6 separate regions of the Homo sapiens genome follow, and regions 1, 2, 3, 4 and 6 are each linked to region 5. Evidence: promoter capture Hi-C in human tissues and cell types (Jung and others, 2019). All regions are on one chromosome and are shown on one strand. Each heading gives the region's core, a stretch centred on a gene start or on the middle of the fragment in contact. The rest is flanking DNA. Distances are from core to core; before and after follow the strand shown. Region 1 overlaps EEF2 (eukaryotic translation elongation factor 2). Region 2 holds the start of SGTA (small glutamine rich tetratricopeptide repeat co-chaperone alpha). Region 3 holds the start of ZBTB7A (zinc finger and BTB domain containing 7A). Region 4 holds the start of ZNF555 (zinc finger protein 555). Region 5 holds the start of NFIC (nuclear factor I C). Region 6 holds the start of PIAS4 (protein inhibitor of activated STAT 4).

What was found. Contacts are between HindIII fragments. The study calls those that stand out against the background at their distance.
Region 1: a contact is called between a fragment that was not itself captured here and the fragment with the promoter of NFIC in region 5, in 1 of the 25 tissues and cell types used here (lymphoblastoid cells).
Region 2: the fragment with the promoter of SGTA here is called in contact with the fragment with the promoter of NFIC in region 5 in 1 of the 25 tissues and cell types used here (spleen).
Region 3: a contact is called between the fragment with the promoter of ZBTB7A here and the fragment with the promoter of NFIC in region 5, in 1 of the 25 tissues and cell types used here (dorsolateral prefrontal cortex).
Region 4: the fragment with the promoter of ZNF555 here is called in contact with the fragment with the promoter of NFIC in region 5 in 3 of the 25 tissues and cell types used here (dorsolateral prefrontal cortex, heart left ventricle and small bowel).
Region 6: a contact is called between the fragment with the promoter of PIAS4 here and the fragment with the promoter of NFIC in region 5, in 1 of the 25 tissues and cell types used here (spleen).

Annotation. Positions count from the first base shown.
Region 1 is chr19:3,978,819-3,981,532 of GRCh38, reverse strand. It overlaps EEF2 (eukaryotic translation elongation factor 2), which reads left to right. Exons shown (of 15, transcript NM_001961.4): 7 at 81-194; 8 at 554-692; 9 at 824-1,019; 10 at 1,467-1,725; 11 at 2,097-2,204. Among named protein-coding and RNA genes, the nearest start is that of SNORD37, 2.4 kb to the left of the region's middle. RefSeq lists an enhancer at 1-60. The HindIII fragment of the contact is 5,039 bases long and covers 1-2,714 here.
Region 2 is chr19:2,781,862-2,784,670 of GRCh38, reverse strand. It overlaps SGTA (small glutamine rich tetratricopeptide repeat co-chaperone alpha), which reads left to right and starts at 1,398. Exons shown (of 12, transcript NM_003021.4): 1 at 1,398-1,438. RefSeq lists enhancers at 967-1,036, 2,533-2,632 and a silencer at 1,427-1,476. The HindIII fragment of the contact is 32,124 bases long and covers 1-2,809 here.
Region 3 is chr19:4,065,616-4,068,392 of GRCh38, reverse strand. It overlaps ZBTB7A (zinc finger and BTB domain containing 7A), which reads left to right and starts at 1,494. Exons shown (of 3, transcript NM_015898.4): 1 at 1,494-1,711. RefSeq lists silencers at 644-973, 1,034-1,143, 1,354-1,413, 1,454-1,503, 1,514-1,713 and 1 more. The HindIII fragment of the contact is 23,363 bases long and covers 1-2,777 here.
Region 4 is chr19:2,840,182-2,843,006 of GRCh38, reverse strand. It overlaps ZNF555 (zinc finger protein 555), which reads right to left and starts at 1,532. Exons shown (of 4, transcript NM_152791.5): 1 at 1,432-1,532. The coding sequence starts at 1,434. RefSeq lists silencers at 1,152-1,201, 1,242-1,541, 1,762-1,951, 1,962-2,071. The HindIII fragment of the contact is 15,507 bases long and covers 1-2,825 here.
Region 5 is chr19:3,365,153-3,367,852 of GRCh38, reverse strand. It overlaps NFIC (nuclear factor I C), which reads right to left and starts at 1,270. Exons shown (of 11, transcript NM_001245002.2): 1 at 1,187-1,270. The coding sequence starts at 1,216. RefSeq lists silencers at 262-661, 952-1,101, 1,552-1,641. The HindIII fragment of the contact is 27,364 bases long and covers 1-2,700 here.
Region 6 is chr19:4,006,334-4,009,196 of GRCh38, reverse strand. PIAS4 (protein inhibitor of activated STAT 4) reads right to left here and starts at 1,461. Exons shown (of 11, transcript NM_015897.4): 1 at 1,410-1,461. The coding sequence starts at 1,436. RefSeq lists silencers at 1,308-1,367, 1,398-1,697 and enhancers at 653-1,543, 1,898-2,027, 1,544-2,435. The HindIII fragment of the contact is 22,791 bases long and covers 1-2,863 here.

The DNA of each region.
Region 1 (2,714 bases), core at 69-2,568, 610 kb before region 5:
GTCTTCCAAGCAGGAAGCAGTGCCAGGCTTCCTCCTGCTGTTCCCAAATGGGCTTTCTTGTTTCTTGGTGGGGAATGTAGGTGTTTGATGCGATCATGAATTTCAAGAAAGAGGAGACAGCAAAACTGATAGAGAAACTGGACATCAAACTGGACAGCGAGGACAAGGACAAAGAAGGCAAACCCCTGCTGAAGGTGCGGCCTGGGCCCAGCCCTCGGGGTGGAGGGAACACAGGCTGCTGTTTCCGGATGCTCTGACAGCCCAGGCCTGGGGGCTGAAGTCCTCAGCTGGGCAGGGACAGCTGCTGCCCCTTTCGCTTTAGACTCTGGGTGCTGCTGGAGACACATCCCAGCAGCCAGCCCCATCCGGGACAGGTGTGGGTGAGGGCCTTGGCAGGAGTGTGCATGGCCTTTGCCGCCTTCCAGAAGGGACTGTGCTTTGGAGAACGTTAGTCCTGACTTTGGCTTCCTTGGCTTCAAGAGAGGAAGCGTGTACGGGGTGGGGCCATCCTGGGCTCCCCAGGTGTCTCATGCACCGCTCTCTGCCCCCGCAGGCTGTGATGCGCCGCTGGCTGCCTGCCGGAGACGCCTTGTTGCAGATGATCACCATCCACCTGCCCTCCCCTGTGACGGCCCAGAAGTACCGCTGCGAGCTCCTGTACGAGGGGCCCCCGGACGACGAGGCTGCCATGGGTACGTGGTCCCGGTGGCCGGGCCCTGAGATGCAGCCGGATGACTTCCTGTTGCCCAAGGTTGTGGGTTGCAGGGTTCCAGAAGGCTGAGCTGCACTGGAATAAAGCTTGCGGGTTTTCTCTGTCCCTCAGGCATTAAAAGCTGTGACCCCAAAGGCCCTCTTATGATGTATATTTCCAAAATGGTGCCAACCTCCGACAAAGGTCGGTTCTACGCCTTTGGACGAGTCTTCTCGGGGCTGGTCTCCACTGGCCTGAAGGTCAGGATCATGGGGCCCAACTATACCCCTGGGAAGAAGGAGGACCTCTACCTGAAGCCAATCCAGAGGTGAGCAGCTGGGTGATGTGCAGGCCCCTTGGCACTGTTGCGGGCCCTGCCCTGCTCCAAGTCTTGGGCTCCTCAGTCGGGAGCTAGAAGTAAGGAGCATAGAAGGAATATAGGGTGATACTTGTGCCAGCCACAACTTTTGTTCTTAGCCCAGTGAGGGCATTTCTGGAGAAGCTCCAAGCCCCAGGGCACAGCACACCCCTGCTCATCTGTGTCCCTGGGCACAGGTGGGTGGCGGCCGTCGACCCATACCCAGGGAGGAGGGCAGTGATTCTGAAGAGGATGTTTCCTGACAGCCCCGACGCAGCAGTCAGGGCCTTGTGGAAGCCACCAGTCTGCCCTGGGACCTGGCAGGAGGGCCACCAACTCCGGGAGGGACCTGCCCTGGCCCTCCAGGGTCCAGCACAACCATCCCTGCGGCCTGCTGCCGCCTTCTGCTTCTTCCAGAACAATCTTGATGATGGGCCGCTACGTGGAGCCCATCGAGGATGTGCCTTGTGGGAACATTGTGGGCCTCGTGGGCGTGGACCAGTTCCTGGTGAAGACGGGCACCATCACCACCTTCGAGCACGCGCACAACATGCGGGTGATGAAGTTCAGCGTCAGCCCTGTTGTCAGAGTGGCCGTGGAGGCCAAGAACCCGGCTGACCTGCCCAAGCTGGTGGAGGGGCTGAAGCGGCTGGCCAAGTCCGACCCCATGGTGCAGGTGGGCACGGAGTGCACCTGCTGGGAGCAGACACCCTGAGGGGGGACGGCTTGTGTCCTGAGTTGTGGCTGTGTGGGTTGCTGTGGTTGGTGGATTGGGGTGACTGGTCATGAAAGGAGGGGTTCTTGGCTGTGGCTGTAAATGGAGACTCCTGCCCAGGCAGCCACCACCCTCTCCTAGGCTGCTCTGCGCGTGTTCACTGTAGCTTGTGGGACTTAACATTTCTTCAGGAGTTTGTGCTGGTCCCAGTTTCCCAGCACCTTCCCTGAAATCTTGTTCTGGCGGGGTCCCTAGCTAAAGGGAAGCTGGGAGCCTGGTCCCGCCTGTTCCGAGCCGCCTACCCCTTTGGTGCTGACCCGCATCCCTTTCAGTGCATCATCGAGGAGTCGGGAGAGCATATCATCGCGGGCGCCGGCGAGCTGCACCTGGAGATCTGCCTGAAGGACCTGGAGGAGGACCACGCCTGCATCCCCATCAAGGTGAGGCGCCAGTGACCAGCCTTCCCCACGCCCCACCCCGGACACCTGCCCTCTGCTTTAAAGCTGAGCTGAGCTAGGCTCTGCAGACGCCTAGACTTGATCTCGGTCTTGGTCTCAGCTTCTTAAGTTCCTCAAGTTTCTTCTTTGCAGTCTTCCACAGGCATGTGGGGCTGTTTTTGTTGTTGTTGTTGTTTTTTTTGAGATAGTCTCGCTGTGTCATCCAGGCTGGAGTGCAGTGGCGTGATCTTGGCTCGCTAGAACCTCCACCTCCCGGGTTCAAGCGATTCTCTTGCCTCACTCAGCTTCCTGAGTAACTGGGACTACAGGCGCGTGCTACCACGCCCGGCTAATTTTTTTTTGTATTTTTAGTAGAGGCGGGGTTTCACTGTGTTAGTAAGTCAAGATGGTCTCGATCTCCTGACCTCGTGATCCCCCTGCCTCGGCCTCCCAAAGTGCTGGGATTACAGGTGTGAGCCACCATGCCTGGCCCAGGGCTATTTTTTTTTTTTT
Region 2 (2,809 bases), core at 149-2,648, 580 kb after region 5:
GGTTAAAACAAAAAACATCTTGAACCATCTGTCTTGAACTGTTAGGGCACCCAGAAAAAACAATGTACTACAATTAAACTGGCAAAAACCAAAACAACCGACCTCCTTTCTTCCCTTTTTTTGTTTTTGTTTTGTTTTCTTTTGCTTTGGAGGGGCTGGAGGGAGTCTCGCTCAGTCGCCCAGGCTGGAGTGCAATGGCGCGATCTCGGCTCGCTGCAACCTCTGCCTCTCGGGTTCAAGCGATTCTCCTGTCTCAGCGTCCCGAGTAGCTGGGACTACAAATGCCCGCACCACGCCCGGCTAATTTTTGCATTTTTAGTAGATACAGGGTTTCACCGTGTTGGCCAGGCTGGTCTCGAACTCCTGACATCAAGTGATCTGCCCCCTGGCCTCCCAAAGTGCTGGGATTACAGGCGTGAGCCACCACGGCCGGCCTCACCTCCTTTATTTCTGCAAAAGAAATTAAAATAATCCACGCCATTAATCGTGCATGTATTTTGAGTAGGACGAAAATGAATTGGGAGAACATTTCTGGCAACTGTAACTTAGATGGTGATCAGTTTTCTGTCGTCCTTGGAAATGTCTCATCACATGTCTTGAGCAACACCAAGATTAATTTTACATCGGCGTTCATTTTCGCTGTTCCCTGTGCCTGGGGTCCGTTTGGACTTTCCTATCCTTGAAATCCAAATGTAAAGGATGATCTTTCCTACCCATCCCATGCGACTTAGCTCCCAGTGACAATCACACTACCTTCATTTTTTTTTTCTTAGTGTTTGCTGTGAAATTTGTTTCTCTATTTATGTACTAGTTTATTAGTTTATAGTCCGTCTACCCCAATGCAAAATAATGAGAGTAGACACTTTGCTGGTTTTTATGGCTGCTTTGCAATAAATATTGAATGAATATTAGGCACCTGCTGTCTACAAATGGCTCTATACTCACAAACGTCTCACACTGCATGAAAGAATGCATTTGTGGGTGAGTAGATGGGTGGGTGAATAAATGAACAAAGATAGTAAGCGGGTAACACTGACTCCCATTCATTGCGCAGCTGTGACGCTCTGGAGTCCAGGTGTCCAAACGCGGCTGCACCACGTGGCCGGCCCAGCACCACGTGGTCAGCTCGGCGACCGGCTGGAGTCAGCCACTGTTCCACCGTGCACCGCTTCATTCCCGCTCTAGAGGGCAAACCAGACCCGATTTCCGGCCTCCATTAGGTCGCAGAGGTCAGTTGCCCTAACAACCAGCTGGTTCCCGCCTCTACGTTGCGTCACTTCCTTCCACGCCCGCCTCCATCATTAACGCGCCTGTGCAGAAGGGAAGCAACTCCGGGCGCCTTTCTTTTGCGCAGGCGTCGCGCCCTGGGGCCGGGGCCGGGCGGCACCGCGGTGCGCAAGCGCAACCGTCGGTGGGTCGGGGATCGGTCGCCTGAGAGGTGAGTGAGGGGCACTGCGCTGAGCCTGGTGGGTCTGGGGTCTGCGGCTCGGGGCCCACGGGGCCCCAAAGCTCGTAAGAGTTTGGGGATCGTGAGGCCAGGGTCACCGCGACCCGCGGGGTCCTGTGAGTAGGCGGTGCGGAGGGGAAACTGAGGCCGGGCGCCATCGGGCAGGCCCTTCGAGCCCTGATCTCCCTTCCCCAGGCCCCAGGTCCTGGAAATGCTGGTCCGCGGCCTGGTGGCGAGGACGGCGGGAGGGGAAGGCGCCCCGCATGTAGTGAGCGCTCGCTGGGTGTTCGCTGCCGTTCCGCTCTTATTAACCGCCTGGAAACGTCGTCCCTGTGACTCAGGGACCCCCGTTTGTGGGGACTGAAGTCGGAACTCTGGTTCCAGCGCCGCCAGTCCCTACCTGGGTGACCTTGCCCAGCCTCTTGGCTTCTCGGAGCCTCAGTTTTCCCCTCTGTAAAACGGGCGTTGTTCAAAAGTCCCTGCCTAGGAGAAGGAGAGCCGCAGGGTCCAGCGGAATCTGAGAACTCCAAAGAATTAGCAGGCGTTCGTCTTATATCATGTTTAGAGTCTTCTTCTGCATATCGTGCTAGAGGTGGGGGAAATCTGGGATTCAGGACCGTCCACCACCACCTCCCACCCGCTGTGTAAACCTGGGTGAGTCGCCTTCCCTCTCTGAGCAAACTGTTCCTTCTTTCGCAAACGAGTTGTAAAAGCAGATGCCTCGGAGGGTCATTATGAGGATAAACCCACATTCAATTATTTGATCAGGTGCCTGGAACTTGATAAGAGAGAGCTGGCTTGAGAATAGCTGTTTTTGTTATTAGGTGCCAGAAAATTGCAGTGTAGTGTGCCCTTCAGAGGTTGAATGATTGTCCCATTTTCTTTTGTTTCTGTCTCTGATTATTCCTTTTGTCTGCCTTTTCCCTCCCTTGACCAGTGGTTCTCAACCAGGAACAATTCTGTGCCCCAGGGATTCTTGGTGACATTTGTGCTTGTCATGATTTGGGGGACCCCCTGGTTTGGAGTTGGTGGAGGCCAGGGTTGCTGCTCGGCACCCTGCAGTACCCAGGACGGCCTCACCCCAGAAAATGATCCAGCTTTAAATGTCAATAATGCTTTAAAAACCCTACCATACGGGCTGATGACCTGAGGTCAGGAGTTCAAGACCAGCCTAGCCAACGTGGTGAAACCCCGTCTCTACTGAAAATATGAAAATTAGCTGGGCATGGTGGTGTGCACCTGTAATCCCAGCTACTCAGGAGGCTGAGGCAGGAGAATCCCTTGAACCCAGGAGGCAGAGGTTGCAGTGACCCAACATCATGCCACTGCACTCCAGCCTGGGCGACAGAGCGAGACCCTGTC
Region 3 (2,777 bases), core at 245-2,744, 700 kb before region 5:
CGGGGGGCCCTCCCGGGTTTCCCCTCGTAGCCAGATTATTATTACAAAAGCCAATCCAACCCGTTTGGGTGTTGAAAGGCGCTTTTAATAAATTGTGCGAAGAAGCCATAAACTGTGTCTCTCGCAGGAGAGGCTTTGAAGTCAGAGGACAGGCTGGGTACACTACACCCAGGCCGGTGGTGGTTCCCGCTGTCAGGTGGTGTTGGTACTAAGAATGCCAGATAATAATAAAACATAATAATGACCCTGGGATTAGGTGTTAGAATGAAGGCACAGTGAGCCCCGGAACAGGGTCACCCACTGGATAAGCGCTCACTAAACGGCAGCTAAAGCAGCTGTCAGTACTCTCTCTGTCTGGAGGAATGAGGAAGGGGAAACTGAGTCCTGGAGCCCTCCCCCCCCCCCCCAGGCGCGCGGTCGCACCAGCCAGCCCTCCCCGGGCCGGGCCAGGACGTTCTCACCACTCGTGCCCTGCTCCCCCTTCCCTGTCCCCCGCCGGACCTCTCCCACGACCGGGGAGGAAGTGGGAGAAACGGACAGGGGAAAAAAAAAAGTCGCGCTGAACCAACGCCTCCCCACTCCCCACCTCCGCCCCTCGCGAGCCATGCAGACCCCCTTGTGCCAAGGAGCGGCCCGCGCGGACCAGGCGTCCAGGGCCCGGTCCCCGTCCCGCCCCGCGGCCCGCAGCCGGGTGGGGGAACTCGCGAAGCCGGGAAAACAACCGCCCTCCCCGCCCCTCGCCAACCCCTTCCCCCGCTGACGCCCCTAGCGCAGCGGGGTGGAGGCGACTCCTTTATATAATCGCGGGAGGGCAGGTTGGTGGTTTCATTTAGGGACCCGGGAGCCCCGCGGACCCGGGCTGTCCTTGGCAAGGCCACCCCCCGGGGTCCCTGGCGCGGCAAGTCCCACTGAGGCCCGGGGAGGCCCAGGGCCTGGCCTTGCGGGGGGATCCCCACCGCCTCACCCCCAACCCACCCCCGGCAGCCCAGGCCGCGCGACCCACACGCCCGCGTCGCTCCTCGCTGTGCGCACCGCGCTCCCCGCCCCCGCTGCCATCCTGCCACGCCCCGGGCGTCGGGGGCACAGCCCGCGCCCCCCCGCACCCCGCCCCTGCGCAGAGGCTGGGGGCCTGTTTATCTGGAGGCCCCCACCCCCCCTCCACCCCGGGGGGCCCGCTCCCCCCGCGCCCCGGGGAGCTCTGGGGCCAGATAAGCTGGCAAGCTGGCACGGCGCCGCGCGGCGGGGCGGAGAGGTCAGAGGCGGGGGGGCGCGCCGGGGCGGGCCGGACCCCCCCCCCCGACTTGACAAAACCTAATAACAGCCCGGTCTCCCCGGCGCAGCGGGCGAAGCCCCACGGGAGGGCAGAGACGTGGCAAGAGGGGACCTGCCGAGCCTGTTCTGGCCTCCGAGGCCAGGCTGGGGGGGGCGGGCTGGGCGTGGGGGGGCCGGCGGCTGCGGCACCTTTAAGACAAGGGAGGACCCCTCTTGCCCTCGGAGAAACCAGGAAGGGAGTCGCGAGCATCATACGGGGCTTTGGCTGTACTGTACAGTTACTGTAGGGGCAGTGACGCCGCCGCCGCCGCGCGAGGGAGCGACCAGGGCAGCGCGACGCGGGCAGAGCGAGCGCCGCGGACCCCGGAGGCGAGCGGCCGAGGGAGCCCAGTCCCAACTTCGGGCCCCGGCCCCGCGCGCCCCGGCCCGGCCCCGCGAGGTAAGTCAGCGCCCGGCGCGGCCCCCGGCACGGGGTGCAGGGCGGGGACGGGCGGGGGTCGCTGCGGCCACCGCTGCCCCCTCGGGAAGGGGAGATCCGGGGAGCCGGGGACGTTCCCCCAAGTTTCAGAGGAAGGGGTGGTTGGCAGCTGCCCGGAGGCTGGAGGCGCCCTGGATCCCGAGCGCGGGGAGGGGGCGCCGCCCGGGAAGGGGGGATTGGGGGCTAAGTGCATGAGCTTGTGCGCCAGCCCCCCCCAACCCGGGTGCATGGCTTTTCGGGGCTCCCAGGCGCGCGGGGAGCGGGGGAGGGGAAGCAGGGCTGCATTGAGGGTGGGGGGAGCCGGCGTGGGGAGATAGGGGGGCGCGTCGCCTGCTAAGTTTCCAGCTGAAGACGAGGGGCGCTCTCGCCCCCCGGGGGCCTATTCGGTGCTGCGTGCATACGTTGGAGTTGGCCAGGATTGAGCTCCATGGGGGATGGGGGGGAGGGGGCTGAAAAAACAGGGAGGGGGGCTTCGGAAAGGAGGGGGAAGGGGTGGGGTGTCCGGGTGGGCGGGCAGGGCCGCAGGGACCTCTGGGCTTCGTAGTCCCTCCGCCGTTTGCAGCCGGCAGGTGGCAAGCGGCTTGGACTACAAGTCCCAGGGTGCCCCGCGCCGACAGCCCGCCGCGGCCTGCGGGTAGGGGCGGTGCGGAGGAGGGGCGGTGAGCGGCGGGCCGGAGAGCCAATGGGCGCGGGCCGATCGCGCGGCGCGGCGCGGGGGCGGGGCCAGCCCGCCAGGGGGCGGGGCCTGGAGCCGGGCTCCCCTCGCCGGGGGCCGGTGGCGGTCCCGGCTTCCGGCTGCGCGGCCCGCGGGCCGGCCCCCTCCCCGCCCCGGGGCCCCTCCCCGCCTGGTTGTGTAACCGTCCCCAGCCCCCCTCCCCTCGGCCCCCCGCCCGTGGGGGGGGGGTCACCCTCCCCGCGCTCCCCGGGGAGGGCGGCGGCCCGGGCGGCCGCGCGGTGCAGGCGAGCCCGGGGATGCGCGGCCTAGCGCAGGCCGGGCCCGGGCGTGGGGGAGGCGGGCGGGCGGACC
Region 4 (2,825 bases), core at 283-2,782, 530 kb after region 5:
CAATGGCGCGTTCTCAGCTCACCGCAACCTCCGCCTTCTGCGTTCAAGTGATTTTCCCGCCTCAGCCTCCCGAGTAGCTGGGACTACAGGCACCCGCCACCACGCCCAGCTAATTTTTGTATTTCTAGCAGAGACGGGGTTTCTCCATGTTGGCCAGGCTGGTCCCCAACTCCTGACCTCAAGTAATCTGCTCCCCTCGGCCTGTCACAGTGCTGGGATGACAGGCTTGAGCCACCGCGCCCGGCCTGGAAATATTTTATCTTCCAACTTCTACTAATTAAATGTACGTTTCACTTCCTAAAAACTGCTGACTCGAAAAAAGGAAAATCTTTTCACAGTGACAAACCCAGGGAGGGGTCAAGTCTGGCCAGGCTACCACGACGGACGCCCTCCCACCCCCAACTCAGGTGTTGCCTCAGCAAGGAATCCCATTGCTAGTACTCAAAACAGAACTGAGAAACGTCTTCAAATCCACACTTTCTAGGGAACCGTGAAAGAATATATTTCCGTGGTTTTAGCCCCCTCGTTTGCAGTCAGTTGCTACAGCAGTCCGAGGACACTAATGCACCAGCCTCCCGGGCGTCCCCGCTGTGGGTCTGCGTGCGTTTGCTTTTGGGGTCCTCGCTCTCCCTTGTTTCTCTAGTCTTTTCAGTTACTTTTCTTCCTTGTGTGTGAGAGCCCAGGGACCAGGAACCCTTGTTTTTTTTCCCCTTACCTACCCCAGGCATCTTGGGGTCAGAGGGGACAAGAAGTCCTCAAGAAGGAAAACCGGGACTCAGGGGAGGAAACCTCGCACGCCCCAGGGGCTGCCTTTGCAGGTGGGGGCGTCTCCGCCCCCGCCGAGGCCCCACCGCTCCCGGGCTGTCCCGGGAGGAACCCAGGGTCCCCCAGAGACCGCGGCCGGAGGCGCGGGGCCTCCAAGGAGCTGAGCCGCGGGAGCGCGAGCGGAGGCGGCACCGACCAGGGACCCGCACCCCAGGAGGCACCGCGGCGTCGGCCCCAGGGCGGGTCCCGGGGGAGCCTGGACCGCACCTCGGGGTCTCGGGCGACTCTGCCTCCCGCGGCCCGGGGGTCCCGAAGCCGCAGCGAAACGCTCCGAGGCGTCGCGGCCCCGGGCGGGGCGTGGGGGGTCGGGAGCGCAGGGACGCGGGGACCCCGGGACGACGGGGACGGAGTCGGGCTCCGGGCGCCGCTCCCCGCTCTGCAGCCTTGGGGCCAGAGGCGGGCGGGGACCCGGAGCTCGGAGCGCCCTAGCCGCGACCTCAGCGCGGGAGGCGGGGCCGGGCGGGACCCCCGGGGCCCAGGCTCCCGTCCTGCGCCGCCCTCGCCGGGGCCGCCCCCCGCGTCCCTCAGCTCCCCCCAAGCCGCGGTCTCGGGCGGTCGCCGGTTCCTGCTGCCCCGCACCGGGATCCTCTCCTGCGCCACACTCACCATGTCCCGGGGCGATTTCTTCGCTACCGGCGCAGGTGAGCGCGACAGGAACCGGGACGCCAGGGACCGCTAGGGGCAGGCGGGGCACTCACGGCTAGGACAGAGGCGTCCCGTCCCAGGGGCCTGATTAGACAGAGCTCGGGAAGCCGCGCTTCTGATTGGACAGTGCTGCCAACGTCGGCGACTCTGATTGGAGAATTCCCCAGTCCGTCCCCTGGCGCTGTAAATTGGGCAGTTCCCCGGATTCCGATTGGGCGTCCCTCATTGGATACTTGTCTCGGCCCCGCCCCCGCCCGTCCTGACTGGGTAGTTCCCTAGGGCCCACCCCCTGCCGGTGAGTGACGGGAGCGTTGCGAACACGCGTGGCTGTCCCGCCCTGCGGGGACACTGGCTTCTGGGCGAACTGGTTTCAGCCCGGGGCGGAATCGCCCTCTCCCCGCAGTTCGGGCGCCCCGCCCGCGTCCTCCTCCGGGACGGGCGTGGGAACTCCAGACTAGTTTCCTCACGAGGCGACCCCTTGTCCGGACAGGAGGTGGATGCAAGCGGGCGGCCCGGGCCTGGCAGGGCGAACGGGGGCTGGGCGCCGGGTCCGAAGGGCCGAGACCTACGTGGGGGCGGGACCCGCAGACGTGACGTCATCGCGCTGCGGGCGACATGGAGACCCCGCCCAGGGGGCTGCGAATCCGGAGACCCGGTCTGGGGGAGGCCGAACCCAAAGCCTGGCAGGGGGCAGGAGCTTTGCTCAAATCAACCAGAAGATATGAGATGTTCATTAAAACCCTCACATTTGGCTGGGCGCAGTGGCTCACGCCTGTAATCCCAGCACTTTGGGAGACCGAGGTGGACGGATCATCTGAGTTCAGGAGTTTGAGACCATCGTGGCCAATATGGTGAAACCCTTTCTCTACTAAAAATACAGAAATCAGCCCGGCGTGGTGCCGGGCGCCTGTAATCTCAGCTACTGGGGATGCTGGGGCAGGAGAATTGCTTGAACCCGAGAGGTGGAGGTTGTAGTGACCCGAGATCGCCCCACTGCAGTCTAGCCTGGGCGACAGAGTGAGACTCCATATTAAAAAACAAAAAAACTCTCAAGTTCATATTTTAAACTCTAAGGAAAATGTTTTCAGATCATTTTTTTAAGTACATCCCCCCAAAATTTGGAAGATTGAAAAGCTGGCCGGGCGCTGTGGCTCACGCCTGTAATCCCAGCACTTTGGGAGGCCGAGGCGGGCGGATCACCTGAGGTCAGGAGTTCAAGACCAGCCTGCCCAACATGGCAAAACCCTGTCTCTACTAAAAATACAAAATTAGCCGGGCGTGGTGGCGCGCACCTGTAATCCCAGCTAGGGAGGCTGAGGCAAGAGAATCGCTTGAGGCCGGGCACGGTGGCTCAC
Region 5 (2,700 bases), core at 21-2,520:
ATATACTCCCCACACAGTGCTTCTTAAGACGGGCCTGGCCCTCGCTGGAATCGCACCCCCCACGTGCCGGGACTTTACAGTTTGCCCGCCATACTGTCCCCTCTCCAGAACCGGCCTTAGCCGCACCTCACTTCAGGGGAAACTGAGGCCAGAACCTCTCCAGCCTAAAGACACACTGCGTAAGGAGGAAAGCAGCGGTCTAGAAAACGGAACTTGCAGACCTCGGGGTCCCCGGGAGCCTGGGCTGGAAGGAGTCCCCGGGGGGAGCCGCCCCCTCCCCACACACCCCCTCGGCCATTGCACAAGGCTCGGCCCCGGGGCAGTCTGGGAGTGCGGCCAGGGGTGAGAGGCTACGGGAGGGGGAGGGGGAGGGGGAGGGGACGGGGCAGGTGCCGGGCTGGCGAGGGCGTCCGCAGCGCCGCAGTGCCCGGGCCAGACCCGGAGCGCCGGGCCTCCCGCTCCTCCCGGCGGCGGCTCCAGAATCCAGAATCCAGAATCCAGAATCGATGCAGCGAAAATACCGGGACGGTGCTGGGGGGCTTGCAAAGGAGGGGGGACCCAGCCGGGCCGCCGGAGCACCCTTCCCCCTCCTGGGCCTCCAACTTCTCCTGCCCCCTCCCCCTCCATGCACACGTGGGCCAATAACGAGGGAAAGGCGACCGAGGGCCAGGGCGGCCCGCACAACCTTGGTGGGGGGACACGGGGAAAACACATGAGAGGTCCCTTTCTCTCCAGCTGGGGAGACCCAGGGTCCAATCACGACCCCCTAGATTCCTCTCAGAGGCAGGCGGGGGGCTTCCCGCAGAGCCCTTGCTGGAGGGGGGCCAGCCCCCACCCCGACCTTTCCGAGTGTCGGGGCGGGGGTGCGGAGTGCGTCGGTGTGTGGGGGGGGGACGCAAATCTGCAGACCAAGCCCCACATCCGGGAGAGGTCCCGAGAGTCGGGGTTGGGGGTGCTGGGCGGGAGTCCCGCGTAGGGGGTCCGCGGTAGGTAAGGGTGTGGGGGGGGTACCCCAGCCTGACCCATCCCCCCACCGGACCCCAGCCCTCGGCGCGGGGGGCATCCCGGGCAGGGATGGCGGGAGGGACGCGCGCCTTTTTCGTCCCGCCTCCTCCTGCTTCAAAACTCCGGGGCTGGGATGCGGGGGGCGCGGGGGCGCCGGCGGGGGGCCGGGCGAGGACCGTACCTGGGTGAGGCAGAGCGGGGACGAATACATCCCGGGCGCGGCGGGAGGCGCAGGGCCGGCCGGAGCGGGCGCGCTGAACTTACTGAGTCATTTTTCCAAACCACCCCCCCGCCCCCCCCAACCCCCCCCCCCGCCCCGCGGCCGGCGCGCTCTCCTCGCCGCCTCCTCCCTCGGTCTCCCTCCTCCTCCCTCCTGCTCTCCCTCTCTCGCGCCGCCCGCCTCGCTCTCTGTCCCTCTCTCCCTCCGTCTCTCTCTTCCTCTCTCCCCCGTCTCTGTCTCTCTGTCTCTCTCTCTACCCTCTGACACCCTCCCCCTCCCACCCCGAACCTCCCACTTCTCAACACCCAACTTTCAAAGAAACGAGGGAAAAAAGGGCGCGAGCGAGAAAGGAGAGCCTCCCCCGACGTCTCAGGACCCCCCCGCTCCTCCCGTATTTACGCAATGCCCCAGGGCACTAGACCAGGACCCCAGGACTGCAGGGCGACCCCAATTCGGATCAAGCGGAGAGGGGGGACAGGGTTGTTTCTGGACATTGAGGGGCCAGGGGTGGATTTTTAAGGCCCCCCCTCCCCACCCCCCCATCACCCCCGAGCTGGCCGGGAAGTTGGAGGAAAGAGCCAGGGGGGAGGGAAGGAATGAAGAAGTGACGTGCGCAGAGGCCGGCCAGCGCGCCTCTTTCCCCTTAAAGATGTACGACCCTGGGTGCACGGTGAGCTGGTCCCACAGCACCCTGGCTCCCTTCTCCCCCCAGAGCCAGGCAGGGGCTGCGGGTCCCCAGCTAGAGGGGCTTGTGTGCAGCTGTCCCTTCCTTGGCCAGAAGGGCCCAGGCTAACACGGGAGGCTCCAGAATTTGCTCTCTTCACCCAGCACCCAAGGGGCAGGGGAGGGGTGGCCTCGCCTGTGTGTCTCTCCAGCACCCCAGGAGGACGGTGTCCAGGCGGGATCTCCAGCTGGCCAGATAAACCCTTGCAGCCTCCCCCTGGGTATCCAATAATTTCCACCTGCCTCAGGGGTGTGCCCTTTTCACAGATCTCAAGACTGAGGTATGGCAAGTGTGGCTTGGAGCCAGGCCATCTGGACCTGGAGCCCACATTCTGTTCTCCTTCTAGACGTAACAGGGCAGAGACCTGGCCTGCCTCCGTCTGAGCCCCCAGGGCATCTGATGACAGGGCCCCAACCCTCCCCCGGTTCACTCCCTGGATCCTCCCAGGCTAGCTCAGAGGCTGCTGTGTCTCTCATTCCCATCCCAAGGGTTCTCCCCTATAAAGTGGCTTAAAGATGCCCATCCTGTGGGATTGCTGGGGATAAGGACAATGACCTTAGCAGAGCCTTGACCTTGGGTCAAATGTTCACTAAAGACACATTCTTAGAAAGCTTGGCCATTTCACCTCATCTCTCTGAGCTTCCCAAGGACAAATGATACCCTCTCACCAAGCTGGGGCAGGTGCCCCAGGCCCAGGGGCGCAGAAGATACCAGCACCCATTATCCTCAGGCATTACAGGAGAGGAAACTG
Region 6 (2,863 bases), core at 212-2,711, 640 kb before region 5:
AGAAGATACGTACAGGTCAGGACCGTGGGGAGGGAAGATGTGAAAGGGGATGGGGGAGGGAGAGGTCCCCTAACCTCCCCGGAAGCCGTGGCCTTGCGGGCACTTCTAAGGGTTTTAGACCCTCAGCTCTAGGTAGGCACCTACAAGAAGGTACATCCCCTGGAATGGGGATACTCTGAGCTCAATCCCAGGATGATTAAAAGTGGTTCCAAGCTAGGAGATGGTATCTATGGGACATGGGACCTGGACAGGACCCAAAGTATAATAGAGCAGCAGCAACAGTTGTTCTAAAGAGGCCAGCCTTGGACCCAGTGGGGACCCTCCAGAGATCAACAAAAGAGAATAGGCAGAAAGAGAGGGGACCTTAGAAACCAAAGTTGGGGTGCATAAAAGTTCTGGGGGCTGTGTAGGGGGAGGGTGGGTGTCTGACCTAAGAAGTAGACTCGCTCAAGAGCAGAAAATAGGAGAAGCAGCCAAGGTTTGAGGACAGTATCTGATGCTGCACAGGTGAGGTTTAGAGCCCCCTGAAGCAGAATCAGTAGCCTCAGATTCTGTCCCGAGAGGAACGAGGTAGGACCAAAGCACAGTCCAGGATTTAAGATTAAAAAAAGGAGAATAAAGAAGGTCTGTGACCAAGAAGAGTGGTCCGAACTCCATCCTATGGGGAGGGAAAGGGAGGGCCCAGCCTTCCCCCAAGCGCCCACTCCGGCGTGTGAGAGACGGTGTCGGGAAGGGGGCGGGGTTCTGGGACCAATGCAGGAGCTGAAGAGGGGCTCAAGACCGAGCCTGAACTCCAGACCCCAAGAGGACGTGCCGTGTCTTGGGGGTGGTCTCAGGGCCCTGACTCCTCCACCTGGACGGTGGCAGGACACTATCCAGGACTCGGGGGACCCTTCCGAGCAGGAGACTCGCAAACCCCAGCCTGGCCTGTTGGGCGGGGACGAGACCCAGATAGCAGTCCTGGGAGCCCTGTGGGCGGGGAGGCGCAGACACTCCCCCCAACACACCAGCCAAAAAGCAAGGACCCCGGCTCGGAACCAAGAGGGCAACGAGTAGCTCAACACGTCCCGCATCCCGGCGGGACGGTGCCTCAACCGGGAGGCGCGGCCCTGGCCTGGCGCTCAGGGACCGGGACCCTAAGGGCTCGGGCTGGGTGGGGGGACCCTGCCTGAAGCCGGGGGAGCGACCCCCGGCGCGAAGACCTGGGTGAGGCAGGAGGGCCCCGCCCCCGGCCTCCCCGCCCCCCGCCCTCACCCTGAGACCGGGGGTCGGGGTCTGGGGGCCGGGACGGCGAGCCGCGGGCCGGCCGCGCTGTGGGGCCCCGGACAGAAGGCGCAGACCTCGACCTGCGGCCCGGCCCCCGCCCTCTCGCCCACTTGCCCCGGCCGGCGCCGCCACCGCTCACTCACTTTGGCCTCCACCAGCTCCGCCGCCATCTTGGTCACCAGCGTCCCCCGCGCCGGGAGCCCCCAGCCGTCGCGTCACGTGACCGCTCACCACTCGCGGGCGGGGCCGCCGCCCGGGCCAATTAGCACCCGCGCGCGCTCCTCCCGCCGCCGGTGCGCGCTGCTGCCTCCTGCGCAGGCGCGCGCGGCCACCGCCCGGGCCTCCGGCCAATCAGGTCCGTCCTACACCAGCGCCCCCCCCCCCGCTCGCGGCGACCACGCCTACCCCGGCGGCGCCTGACTCCTTAAAGTGGTACTAGCCCTGCGCAGGTGGGGACGGGTGCTCGGTTTCCTCTAGGGAGGGAAGGCGAGAGGGGGCGGTGGCAGCGACAACAATGCAGCTAGGTGCCGTGGCTTCCTGCGCGCGGCGGCCGCCAGGTGCGTCTCCAGACTCCCGGCGGCGTCGGGCAGGGGATGGTTGCTCCGCCGCAACGGCCGCCAGTGCGTACAGTGAGGCGCCTTGCAGCGCAGCGCGGTGCAGGCTCCACGGGCCCAGACACCCCGCGCGCTGCACATCCGGGTCCTGGTGTGCAGATGGGGCGTGGGCTCGGCAACCAGCTGGCTGGGGGCGCCCGGCGGAGAAAAGCGGGACCCCTGCTCCCAAATTCCTTGGAGATCGTACAGCCCTCACCTCTTTGCAGGCGCCCCCCCCATCCTGCCTCCCCACCCATGGGAAACCTTGGATCTGCACCAGTTGGGACCTCTTCTCCAAAGCGCTCCTTGGCTTTGGAGCTAAGTGGCTTCGTGCCCGTAGAAGTGGATTTCAAACTTCAATAATCAAGTATTTTAGTGCAATTTATTTTTTATTTTTATTTTTGTAGAGACGAGGATCTCATTATGTTATCCAGGGTGGTCTCGAATGTCTGGGCTTAAATGATCCTTCTGTCTGGGCCTCCCACAGTGCTGGGATTACAGGCGCGAGTCACCACACCTGGCTAGTCCAACACTTTAAACATAAAAAAATCAGTGCAAAAGAGTCCATGATGGATGAAATACCAAATTGTTATTTATTTATTTATTTTCGAGACGGAGTTTTACTCTTGTTGCCCAGGCTGGAGTGCAATGGCGCGATCTCAGCTCACTGCAACCTCCATCTCCCGGGTTCAAGGGATTCTCCTGCCTCAGCCTCCCAAGTAGGTGGGATTACAGGCGACTGCCACCACGCCCAGCTAATTTTTTTTTTGGCCAGGCTTTTCTGCAACCCCTGACCTCAAGTGATCTGCCCGCTTCAACCTCCCAAAGTACTAGGATTACAGGCATGAGCCATCATGCCCAGCCTTTTTTTTTTTTTTTTTTGAGAGCCTTGCTGTGTTGCCCAGGCTGGAGTGCAATGGAGCGATCTCCACTCACTGCAACCTCTGCCTCCTGGGTTCAAGCGATTCCCCTGCCTCAGCCTCCCGAGTAGCTGGGATTACAGG